3 separate regions of the Homo sapiens genome follow, and all the other regions are linked to region 3. Evidence: promoter capture Hi-C in human tissues and cell types (Jung and others, 2019). All regions are on one chromosome and are shown on one strand. Each heading gives the region's core, a stretch centred on a gene start or on the middle of the fragment in contact. The rest is flanking DNA. Distances are from core to core; before and after follow the strand shown.

What was found. The method cuts DNA at HindIII sites, captures the fragments that hold promoters and counts their contacts. A contact is called where the count stands out against the background at its distance.
Region 1: a fragment that was not itself captured here is called in contact with the fragment with the promoter of TECTA in region 3 in 2 of the 25 tissues and cell types used here (liver and mesendoderm cells).
Region 2: a contact is called between a fragment that was not itself captured here and the fragment with the promoter of TECTA in region 3, in 2 of the 25 tissues and cell types used here (dorsolateral prefrontal cortex and liver).

What each region holds. Positions count from the first base shown.
Region 1 is chr11:121,150,627-121,154,820 of GRCh38, reverse strand. TBCEL-TECTA (TBCEL-TECTA readthrough) reads right to left here. Exons shown (of 30, transcript NM_001378761.1): 19 at 1,741-1,940. It overlaps TECTA (tectorin alpha), which reads right to left. Exons shown (of 24, transcript NM_005422.4): 13 at 1,741-1,940. Among named protein-coding and RNA genes, the nearest start is that of TECTA, 51 kb to the right of the region's middle. The HindIII fragment of the contact is 8,423 bases long and covers 1-4,194 here.
Region 2 is chr11:121,049,488-121,053,586 of GRCh38, reverse strand. It overlaps TBCEL-TECTA (TBCEL-TECTA readthrough), which reads right to left. Exons shown (of 30, transcript NM_001378761.1): 4 at 1-36. TBCEL (tubulin folding cofactor E like) reads right to left here. Exons shown (of 9, transcript NM_001363644.2): 5 at 1-36. Among named protein-coding and RNA genes, the nearest start is that of TBCEL-TECTA, 27 kb to the right of the region's middle. The HindIII fragment of the contact is 3,312 bases long and covers 718-4,029 here.
Region 3 is chr11:121,099,182-121,103,149 of GRCh38, reverse strand. TECTA (tectorin alpha) reads right to left here and starts at 1,907. Exons shown (of 24, transcript NM_005422.4): 1 at 1,708-1,907; 2 at 421-485. The coding sequence starts at 484. It overlaps TBCEL-TECTA (TBCEL-TECTA readthrough), which reads right to left. Exons shown (of 30, transcript NM_001378761.1): 8 at 421-485. The HindIII fragment of the contact is 17,013 bases long and covers 1-3,968 here.

The DNA of each region.
Region 1 (4,194 bases), core at 1,106-3,605, 51 kb before region 3:
TATTGAAGGACTCGATGCCAGGCACTAGGCTAGGAACCCAGCATAGATTATTTATGCAACAGCCCTACTGTGTTGGTATCATTAGTCACATCTCATTCACAGGGAAACAGATGCTCAGAGAAATGACAGCGTTTGCTCAGTGTCACACCTCCAGCAGTGGTACCGCTAGGATGGAACCCAGGTTTCATTGAATTATGCCACACTGACACTCAGGATGCCTGCCGAGGGTGCATGGCACAGTTGAGAAATGGATAGGTTTTGGTAAGTCTCCGGGCTGGGGAACACAGTTTAGAGAGTGCTTTTTGAGTTTTGAGCCTGGTTATATCTTCTCCTCAATTGTGAGAAAACAGAATTCATTAATTTTTTCCACATGTTCTGCCTTTTCCTTTCAAATAACATTTCTAAGAGCTCATTTCAACACCCCCTTTCCCAAAAAGTCTCCTTTGATTAGTTTCACTATTTTACCTTACTTCCTCCCTGTCTTTCTAATATAGCATTTAAATAAATTCTCCACTGAAAGTGAAATTGAGGGTAATGTCCACATTTCTTTTATTTATCCCCGAAGTTAGGGCAACTTGAATGAGTCAATGTATCTTTACAAAAAGGAGATATTATTTATTTTTCGCCTAGCTGATTTCCAATTCAGACATTTCAATTAGATTTATTTTAAAGCTACTATTCTTTTTCACTTAAAATTGATTAGTTCTGTAGGGTATTATTTTTCACTTGCTGATAGGTTATTTTGTAACTGATCTCTTGTTCTTTAAAGTACATTGTTTCTCTCTTCTGAATAGATTTTTAAGATCCTCAAGGCAGAGGACGTGCTTTCTCATCCCCCACAATACCACCAGCACAGTGCTTTGCAAACAGCAGATACTCAATTATCTGTAGTTGTTAACCATCTAACTTGCCAACATATGGTTTTGATATCATTTAAACAGAGAATGGGCTTGAGGTCGAACCATGAACTAAATACCTTGTCTAGGCAAGAGCTTTTCTAGCTTAGTATTATGGAATTCTAGCTTAGTATTATGGAAAGATTACAAAGTCCAAAAAGTGAAATGATTTCGTGAACTAATATGCTTTATTGAGAAACATCTACGAAGGGCATCTTCATGAACTCTATGTTTAAACTCCTGTAGAGGGCGCCGCAGAGGGTGGGATGTGGGGGCACCACATTAGCAGTCCAGACCAAACTCCAGGGATGATACCACAGTGACAAATGGCACACGTGGAGATGGCAGCCACAGCTACCCTCACGGAGCCTCAACAGACAGAAGAGGGAAGTCCGCCCCACTCAGCCTCCAGCTCCATATTTTCCAGTTACAAATGTCCTTAGCTAAGACAGCTACAAATATCAGATTCACAGCCACCGTGTATCCAAACTATAGCTCTATCTGAAGCTTTCAAACTGAGATTCACAGGACAGAAAATCAGAGAAAGGCACGACACAGACACACAAATGTGAGTGAGTAGGGGAGGCAGAGTGCTGGAGACCTTGCCACTGTGGAGGAGGGAGGAAGGAGACACTCAGGTGTTTTTCCAAATCTGACACTCAGTGCCCAAGAGCATCACCTGAACAGTGTGCTTAGCCTCTCTACCCCCCATCCCATTCCCCTGCCACGAACACGACGCTCTTCATAATGAAGTGGGAAAATTGGTCAATCTGACCAACCTCTTAGAGTTGGAGAGGAATCTGATCATTGGCAAGGAGGAAAAGGCCGGGCTGGCCTCCCATACCTCGTAATATTTGCCATCGGAGTAGCAGCCGCAGCTGTGGGGCAGGATGCAGCTCTTGCCGTTGAGGACGTAGCCAGCGTCGCAGTGACAGCCCTCCACGCAGTAGTGGCTGCAGTCACTCTTCAGGCGGATGGCGGCGCAGCGGGGCTGGCAGACACTCACGCAGCTCTCGTAATGGCTGTTTGGAGGGCAGGTGACAGCTGGAACAAGAGAGACAAGTCAAGACTCGCACGATCACAAGGCACCGAGGAGGGTTTTCTCATGGCCATTGCTCACCTACTCAGGGAGATGAAAGGCACGGGGAGAGGCAGGAGCCAGGAGGTCTGCCGCCTTTCTTCATTACTGCCCTCTTTGCTCACAGAAAGCCTGGGTCTGATTCGTTCCTGCTTAAATAAAGGGCCAACATGCAGACGGAGGTGGCTGGAGCTTCTCACATCATGGTCGTCCTCACCTCAGCCTGGCCATTGAGATCCTCTATGGCCTGCCACCTGAACCCACCGCCCATCTGAATCTCCAGTTAGACATGTCACCTGATAACCTCCCAGGGCACCCACACTCCTCCTGCCTCTAGGTCTTCATTCACATTGATCTTTCTTATTCATGCCCTTCTTCATCCTCTCAGCCTATCCAAATTCCTGGTTCTTCAAGTGCCAGTGGGAGTCCCACCTTACCCATGTAGTTCTCCCTCTTCGACCAATGTCAGCTCCTCTACACCCCAGAGCTTCTACAGAACGTTTTTCTAAGCCAGCAGCTTATCATCAGTAGATGCCTCAGCCCCATGATCTCTGAGAAGGCAAATGTACACCGTGTGTGTTTGTGTGCATGAGTACACGTGCTGGCATGCATGGGTGTGTGCACGTGCACATGTCTGTGCAAACTGATTCACGTCAATTATGTTCTGCCATTTTTCAAATGCATCTAGATGCTTCTATAGAAGGCAGGTAGGGTCCTGGTGAAGGGTGTGGGCTCTGGAACCAGCTATAAGAGACCCAGAGCGTCACTCGGGCTCTCTGAGCTTCAGCTTTCTTATCTATAAATACAGATACCAATAGCATTCACTTCATGGCTGATTGCAAAGGATTAAGTGAGTCTGTGTGCTCAGAACAGTGGTTGGCATGTAAGTGTTCAGTATTAGTCAATCATTAAAGATAGGTTTGCTTAAAAAGTTTCGTAGAAGCTATTATCTCAATCAACGTATACTAAAAGCACAGCTACCATTATGTGGGAACTTCTACCCTATACCCTATACAGTATCTATATGGGGGGTTATTTCATTTTTTAAATTATATAGCGGTAACACCTACTTTTAGAGTACACAGTTCTATGAATTTTAACACATGTATTGATTCATATAACCACTCTCACAATATACCATGTTTTTAAAAAACATTTGTAGTTTAATACATAATACTTGCATAGTGTAGAAAATCCAAACCATACAAGAAAAAGCGTGATGAAATGGCAACCTCCGATAGCAAACTATAGTCAATTTTTCCAGAAGTGTTCTATGCATATACAAGCACCCATCTGTGTGTGTGTGTATGCACATAAGCATACATGTATGCCTTGTCCATTATTTTTTGCATAAATGGGAGCATAATATATACACATTTCTGCTCATTGCTTTCTTTATGACAATATTCATTCCATTTAGCCTCAAATTATTGCTTTTGCACTGCTGCATGCTGTGTGTACTTTATGTGTTTATGCTGATGCTGCAGTGAACATCCCTGTATGTATACCTTTGCCCTCATGAGTAAGGGCATCTGTGGAATAAATTACTGAAAGTGGAATTACTGGGTGAAATGGTATGAATGCCGCTAAGTTGCTTCTAAAGAGACTGTGCCAATTTGTCTTCCTACCTGCGCTATTGGAGGAGGTTTGTTTTCCCACACTCTCCTTGATTGTCTTATCACCAAATTGTCTGATCCTTGGAAACAAGGTTAAAATGCGATATGTGCCATCTCCTTATTTAGTTTGCATTTCTTTGTGAGGTTGATCCTCTTGTTCTCATTTGTTTATAATCCATTTATATGTCTTTTTTTGTTAACTGCCTTTTCATATCCTTTTCACATTTCATGTTGTTGAAATTTTTATTATTAAATTATAAAAGTTCTTTAAAAATTAAAATAGGCCTGGCCAGGCACAGTGGCTCACGCCTGTAATCCCAGCACTTTGGGAGGCCGAGGCAGGTGGATCATGAGGTCAAGAGATCGAGACCATCCTGGCCAACATGGTGAAACCCTGTCTCTACTAAAAATACAAAAATTAGCCAGGCATGGTGGCATGCGCCTTTAGTCCCAGCTACTTGGGAGGCTGAGGCAGGAGAATTGCTTGAACCCAGGAGGCGGTGGTTGCAGTGAGCTGAGATCGTGCCACTGCACTCCAGCCTGGTGACAGAGAAAGACTCCATCTCAAAAAAAAAAAAAAAAAAAAATTAAAATAGGCCTTTGT
Region 2 (4,099 bases), core at 1,124-3,623, 50 kb after region 3:
CTCCAACTGAGGAACATTTGACACAATTTTACTGACCTAAGGAGAAAAAAAGAAAAGCATTATCAGGCAGTAATCAGAGCTGTTAAATAGCAATCATGCTCAAGAAAGCCTAGAGGAGCTGGTCTCCAGGCAAAGGGCCATTTACATCAAGGAGTCCTATTATTTAGTGACGGTACTCACAGAGGGACATAAGTGATTTCAACAAACCTTGGCAAATAATTTAATCTTTCAATGAAATAGTGGCATAACTGACTGGTACATAACAGAACTTAATGGTAAAAAGGAAGATTTCCTATGTCGCCTTTAGAAAGGTTTCTGATTCTGCTCTATGTGACGTTCTCTTTGATAAGTGGAGAAAAGACAGTTTTGATGACATTTCTTAAAGAGCTGAGATTAGTTCATATAATCCTCTTCGAATATCTCCTTCCTCTCATTCTTGGCAAAATATTAAGGCTAATTAAAGGTTAAAATTCACCTGGTAACAATTCATGTGTTAAATTTGACTACATTATCACAATCACTTAGAAAACAGTTTCAATTTGGTTCAAAGATGTACCAAACTTTAAAATATGTTTACTCAAAAACAAAAAAAAAATCCGTAACTATATAACGAAAGGGAAAACAAGATTATCAACGATTTAGCTAGCAACTTGGTAGACAAAAAGGAAAAAAAGAAAATGAGCATTACTGACCTTAGCTATTTGGTCTGCATGGTACTAGTCTCTTTGATATAGTTTATTCATTAAATTCTCAAAACAACTTGCAAGATAATACTACTTTCATTTTAATAAATGAGGAATCTGACTAATAATTTGACTAAGGCCTTACAGTTACAAAGGTCACGTCTGGGATTTAAAACTCAGAGCCATTTTTCTTTCCAATATACCATATTTATACATCATAAATATAAGCAGAAAAAATGAATAAAGAAAACTGAAGACTAGTTGGCACAATCTGCGAGAAGGATCAGCTTAAACAAGTATGAAATAAATGCTAGATGTCCAGCAAATGTATTAAGCATCAAACAACCAGGCAATGTGGTAAGTAAAAGCTATAAGAAAAGGAGAAAAGAGTAGTTAGGATTAGTTTTAGAGTCAAAAAGCCTGGGTTCAAACGAGGTTCCAACACTTCCTAGCTGTGTGATTTCAGACAAGTGACTTAATCTTTCCAAATCTCAGTTTCCTCATTTGTAAAATAGGGAAAATAGTTCCCATCTGTTGGTAGGATTAAATGAGATACACATTAAAGTGCTTAGCATAGCAAGTGACACATTTTTTTGAAACTTGTTTCCCTACGTACCCCCAACTAGCATGTAAGCTCTATAAAAGCAGATATAGTACTTACCTACTTCACTACTGCATAGTGGACACTTATTTATTGAATAACTTAATGGCAAAAAATCATTTAATAAATGTAACTATTATGAACATAAGCATAATATGAACCATTATCTCAACCTTAGCTACCCATCGGAATCACTGACAGAATTTAAAATATGCTGATTCCAAGGTTCCACCATAATTACTGAATCAGAAGCTTCATAGGTGGGACAAGCTTCAGGGTTGCAACCTGAATATCTTTCTTTTCAGAGCTCCAGAAGTAATGCCAAAAGAGTATCCAGGAGGGAGAACCATGGGTAGAAAGAAAAAGTAATCTGTACTTTACATCAGATCTACTGTGTAAACATTGAGTTCAGGAGCTCTAAAATCAGTGAGAAGTAGATTAATTCCAAGAAGTTTCAGAAGAGTAGGTGAGAAGAAAAGGTTCCCTGCATTCACTATTTCACTTATTCCACACACTAACCCTATAAAGTGGGTACCATTTTTATCCTCATTTTACAAATGAAGAAATGAGCTGCCTTTTAGAGAAAATATACTAGGCTTCTGTTTAAAGTGTAAGGAATTTATACCAGTGTGCACATATTCTCTTGCTTGATCCCTTTTGCGATCAAATGGTACCAAACATTTGTGCAATATATGGCTAGTATTTGGAGCTCAGTCTGTGACCAAAACACAGCTAAATAGTTCATGCAGGAACCAATCTGTACTGCATTCTATGATTGAATACCGATACGAAGAACTTTCATACAGAAGATGCTTACCAGCTATACTTAACCTCTTTGTGGAGGTTGGAGGGGGACAGGAATTATGCTCCAACTAAAGCACGAAGAATAACTTATAGGACAACCCCAGTTAAATAAAAACAAAACATAAACCCTTTGCTAACTACTACCACTCATATTTTATTTTTATAATAAAGAGGAAAACGCTTTAAAAAATAGATAATTTAAGGGTTTTGAAACAATTTCTGGGAGATTTCCCAAGGCTAGCAGATATATGATGTAATCACCATGGTCTGCATCAGCATTACTGTACAGTGAAAATTAATATTCAGAATAATGACTTGTTAACCCTAGAATATCCTAAAAGGTAAAACTGAACTAGAATTTAATCATTCAAGCAGGAAAAATAACAAATGTTAGAAATAAATGAATATTTTCTTTAAAGGGATAAAATAAAAAAGGTTTTTTTGAGTAACCTCAAATTGATAAGACTCAGGAAGACATAATATTCATTACACAGATAAATTTACTTATGACAGAAAAACTTGCCAGTACCAAAAGCCGACAAACATTCCATGAGTTTCTAGGGCAGTATATTGACTTCTCTTTTTTAAATTCTAAAAATAAAAAAGACTCCTCTAACTGGAATGAGTATGCTCATGTGCAGAAACATGGAGATGAACTCAGATCACATTTTAGGTTTCTACAATTCTATGATGTAATAGGGGACCCTTTACTTTGGCTTCCAAAAAGGAAGAAACTGAAGATTTAAGAAAAATGGGAAAAGGGTTTTAAGACAACAATCTGTCATCTGTACCTAAGCTATTCTCTACCTTACCTGAGTGGCTACTTCCTCCCTCCTCTCAACCACTAGGTTTAATTTCTTTTATAAAATGGTTTTGATAAGGAATGGAGTAAAAAGAAGGTAGCTTGGGAAAGGTCAGACAAAGATCTACTCAGCCAAAAATTCAAGTCAAAAGCTAAAAAAAAATGCATTATTTTTAAACATAGGTGCCCAATTTTAGAAGGGTGAAGACAAATCTTTGCCTCCCCAGAAGTATTACTTCTCTCATCCATATTTATCTTAGTCTCTGGATATATAGCAGCCAGCAAATTAAGTTACAAAAGAAGTTACTCATAACCTATAATATTCTTGGTCATCCAAAAAACTAAGGGAAAAATTATACAACTGGTTCCACATTGCCCTATCAATACTGGCTGAAATAAATTCCGTTAATAGCTAAGGACAAATTATCTTTTTGGTAATCAGATATATGGGTTATAATGGGGTTGAAATGTAATGTCCTAAAACAGGCGACCTATGAAGCATTTGTAGCCTGGCCAAGAGTTTAATCAATCCTAAAAATCAACATTCTTTTGTCATATTTCTCCCTTTTCTATGTTCTGATATATCCTCTAGAAGACTGGGATCAACTACAGTTAAGGATAAAGAGGAAATATAAAGGAATGATGAAAACAAAAATAAATTAGAAAATGGATACCTGAAAGTAGCAGCAACAAATATTTACTTGAAAACTGCCTGAAAACAGACTATAGAGCACTTAGGAATACACAAACTGAGTATAAATACAGTATAAATAAGTATGTGACCCTCTGGATATATGTCAATGTGGCTTGAGAAAAATGTAACATAGACTTTTGTCTAAGCAGGGAAAAATGCTGAATTACTTAGTGTACACACTGTATACTGATCCATATTACACACATCTTCCTCCTGAGGTAGCAACTACATCACTATTAAACTGTTCCCACCAATTAGCAAAAGCTTATATACATGGTCCAGGCACAAAACCTTTGTAAAATTTTGTATTTCCAAAGAAACAAATTTGAAGTGCAGATAAAGCATGCATGGCAGTTAAATGTTGCAGAGGACCAAGAAGGCACAATCTGTAATTTGTTAAACAGTAAACTATACAAGTTGTTCAGATAAGTAAATAAATATATATACAAATAGAAATTATTTTTTAGAATAGCCCTATAAATTTGCATATGTTAATAAATCACTTAGAAATAGGT
Region 3 (3,968 bases), core at 658-3,157:
ATCAATGCTATTGTAATTTCCTAGTTTTTGGCCGAAATAAGTAGATTCTTTAAAGTCTCCACCACAAATTAAATGCCTTAATGGAAATCAGTGATCAGACATGAAGTGCACATACCCCTATCTTATCTACTTTTAATGGAAATAATTTTGCGTAATTTTAAAGATCTACTCCACTAGCACAGGGCAAGCTGGTACATACAAATAGTATTTGAAGTTAAATAAGAAAAAAGTGGGAATATAAGTAAACCTCATTTAAAGTTAATGAATTTTACCCTTGATAATAGAATTTAATTACATTTTTCTCTTGTATCTGTAGACACACATGCACCTGCCCTTACAATTGTGGTTCCAATAAAAGTGTCTCTTTATCAATTCAAGAGCATGCTAACTGAGAGCTTTATGGAATTCTGTAGTACTCACCTTGGTGCTGTACAAGTGCGAAGATGAAAGAGACCCAAATTCTAAGGAATGATGAATAATTCATCCTGGAATTTTAAAAAGAAAATGAAAAAAAAATCCCCAGCTTGCCAGAGTAAACAGAACACCAGGTGTGTTTAGTGGCTAATCCCAAGACCATCAAAACCGTCATAGAACAAATTCACATAACAACATCAACAGTGCTGAGTCGGGCTGAAATCCCCTGAATGCTGGCAGGTCCTCCGAAGTTCAACACTTCATGAACAAATTAGATGCCCAGAAGAAGCCAGTCTGGAAGTGTAATGAGATCATTCAAACTGTCAAGTAATTATTTAGGATCAGTGAGAGTGGTATGCGTAAAGGAAAGGTATCCCCTCTGCATCAAATAAAGCGCTGAAAACTAGGACCCAACGCTAAAGATGCATGCAGGTCCCGGGTTGTGTCTCTGCAGCAGAAACCACACCCCAGTGAGACCTGGATTTCCTAATTTTCACTACAGCTTTCCATCAGAATCAAACAAAAGTTGGTTAAAACACAATGTGTTCTACAGCTAGGAGAATTTAGAGTCTGCCATCACCTTCTCCATAGAATGGAGCCGATCCATCATTTTGAAGTATTGACCAGATTCAGGGCCAGTCTACTCTGTTCACTGACTTCCCACAGTGAAATGAATGATAGAAACATTAGTAATAAAAAAGGACCAATCCAGAGTTGGAATCACAATAAAAATAGAATCCAGCGCACAAGCAACCAATTAGTTCCAGCAAGTTAATTAAAGAAGGAACACAGCAAAGAGAAACTTGTTTTCGTGTTAGTTTACAATCGGTTGCATGGTGGCTTTACCCTCCATCAGGAGCATGTTTTGTCTGTGTCACTCTGCAAAGCTGCGATGAGAACACGGACGCAAGCTCAAGTTAGACATCACCCAAGCGTGTGGCTAGACCATGAAGTCTCCTCCTGACAGTATTCTTAAAAAAGAAAAACCTTCCTCTTATCATTTGAAGTTATCACAATTCTTCAGCCAAACTTTCACGGGAAAGGCAATGAATTTATCCTGTGAGAGTTTTATTGCAAATCTTTAGTTGTCAAGTATATATGTTGTAATTTCAAGCACATATTAAATATTAGACAGTTTTGCTGGAAAGGGTACAAAGGTTTAGCAGAGATCACACACAGCTTTAATGGAGAAGATGCCGTGCAAGTTTAAGACTAGAGCCCTTAGGGAACCGGTTCAGAGAGAAGTAAGGAGGATTCATTTAGATATTTGTATTTATGAAAAATGTCACTAACCTGTTCTGTAGAGGCTGGAGGAACTGAGTCAGAAATATTAAGCCAAATCTTGGTAAGCCAGAAAAAATTAGGTAAAACAAGAATTCATGTCAGTTCTCCTCAACTTGTTGCCAATAATTTCTGATTCCTGAAATAATGTCTGAATCTCGTACTCTTAAAACCAAAAATTAAGTTAGTCCTGCACTAGAGACAGGTAAGTGTTGAGCTGCAATCAAGTTTTTTTCTATTGATTAAGGAAAAGTAAATCTAAAGATCAGTTTCAGGATTGCGTAGAGAGGTTCTTTTCCTGAAAAACTAGACCTTTTTTTTTCCCCTTTGAAAAAAAAAGTAGATTCAGATGGAAATGTCAGGTACTTGGAGCTGAAACCTTGGGCCTTTCTGATCAGAATCACTTTGCACTGAAAAACACAAAAGAAAACCCCCCTTCTACCTTTGTACCCAAAAGAAGGCAACTGTATAATGTTACAGAATTAGCATCCACCAGCATGGGATTAAAACTCCAAACAAAGCAGCTGCCTCCAACATTTAAATGAAGTTGGTTTTCTATTAAAGTCTTTTTTTGTTTCTCTGGTTTTCAACAGTCGCCACAGATAGGCTCTACTCTATTTTTTCACAGGTATGCATGAAGTATTTAAAGAAAATTTCCAAACTTTTTAGGTTTTATGCCCTCTCTTTTCTCTCTGATGCACCGCTCTGCAGGAGATAGGACAGGGCACTTTCCAGGCAAAATCTAACAAGGGACCTAGCGCTAGACACGATCTTCCACAAGGGAAATCTCAAACTGTGGCCTGGAAACCTTCCCTAACACCCAGTGAGGGTCACTGGAGGCAGAGGGGGGAGATAAACCCCTTCTGATAAAAAATTTGCAGTAAGTAAATAGTTTAAAAGGCATGTGAATAAGAGGAAAACGTGCTCGGTTAGATGCTTCCAAGCATCCAGTAGATGTGGAATGAGCAAAACTGGCTAAGGCATAAGCTAAATCTACTATTCAAAATGTTTAAATGGAATTTATTAAGAAAGAAGTAACTTGACTGTAGCAGGAAAAAAAAACTCTTCTGCACATCAATGGGAATTTAAAAATTACTGCAAATTTTCTCTGACCAGACATTTAAATGCCAACTGTACAAAAGAAATATAATTCTGGGTTTAAGCATGTTGTCTTAAAATGGACAAGAGTGCTTGGCGAGCTAAATTTTTTTAGTTTAAATTACTCCGTGTTTTTCCAAAAACCTGTGATAATTCAGTAGGTTTCCCACATTGTTTATTCTCTCACTGGTATTATGAATCCTCCACACATATTTACTTACAGATGTTAAATGACTGCTTCTTTCCAAATGACTCACATTTATTTGTTTTTCTTTGGATTCTAGGAGTGCTTAGAATGGCGTATATTTATATAACAGAAAAGCTAGTTTCTTGGGTGCCTATTTAAAATAAAATTAAGTTCAAATCAAAGACTCATTACAGAAGGATTCTCTTTGTCCAGCCTTAGGTTTTAGTCCAGTAGCCAACCTAAATGTCTTGAAGCAAAATCGCTGGCTGTGTTTTAATTAACTGCTGGTGGCATACTAATTGCTTTCTTCCTTTTTCATGCATTCTAGGATATTTATATCACAGCCCTTTTGACCCATGTTGGATGCTCCATCCTTCTTGAGACAGGACTGCTGCCCGGATAAATGCCATCTGGGCATAACCAGATACACAAGATGGTGGCATACATGAATTAGAATGCCTTTGAGAATCCGGCTGCAAGGGAACACCAGGTGCGTGGGGAGACACCAGGCTGGCTTATCACTTTGGGAAGCTGGTCAGTGAGTGTGTGTTCTGGTGTACACCCAGTGGTCACAGATTGACAAATGACAAAAATGTCTTTTCATGCTGTGTCAGCAGGAGGACTTATTTCGTTGAAAGTGTGAGGTGAGCAAAGATTTTGACAAGATTTAGATGTGGGGTACGGTGGGGGTGGGTTGGAGCTAGTTACCCAAGATAACTGTGCTTTATAAAAAAAAAATGGCAGAAGTTGATGCTGTTTTATAGGCAAGAGGAAAGACAGCTCAAACAAAATAAAAAAATACAGTCCTCTAAACTCAAGTAGAATGGGTTTTATTTTGTTTTTGTGTTGTTTTCTTAGGTTTTGTATACCTTTTTCTGTGGAACAGATGGTCAGATGGGAGCTACTTTGAAATGATGCAGTTATTGGCTATGGCAGACTGGGAGATGCGCCACTTAGACCCCCGTACAACAGAGATGTGAGAAGCACA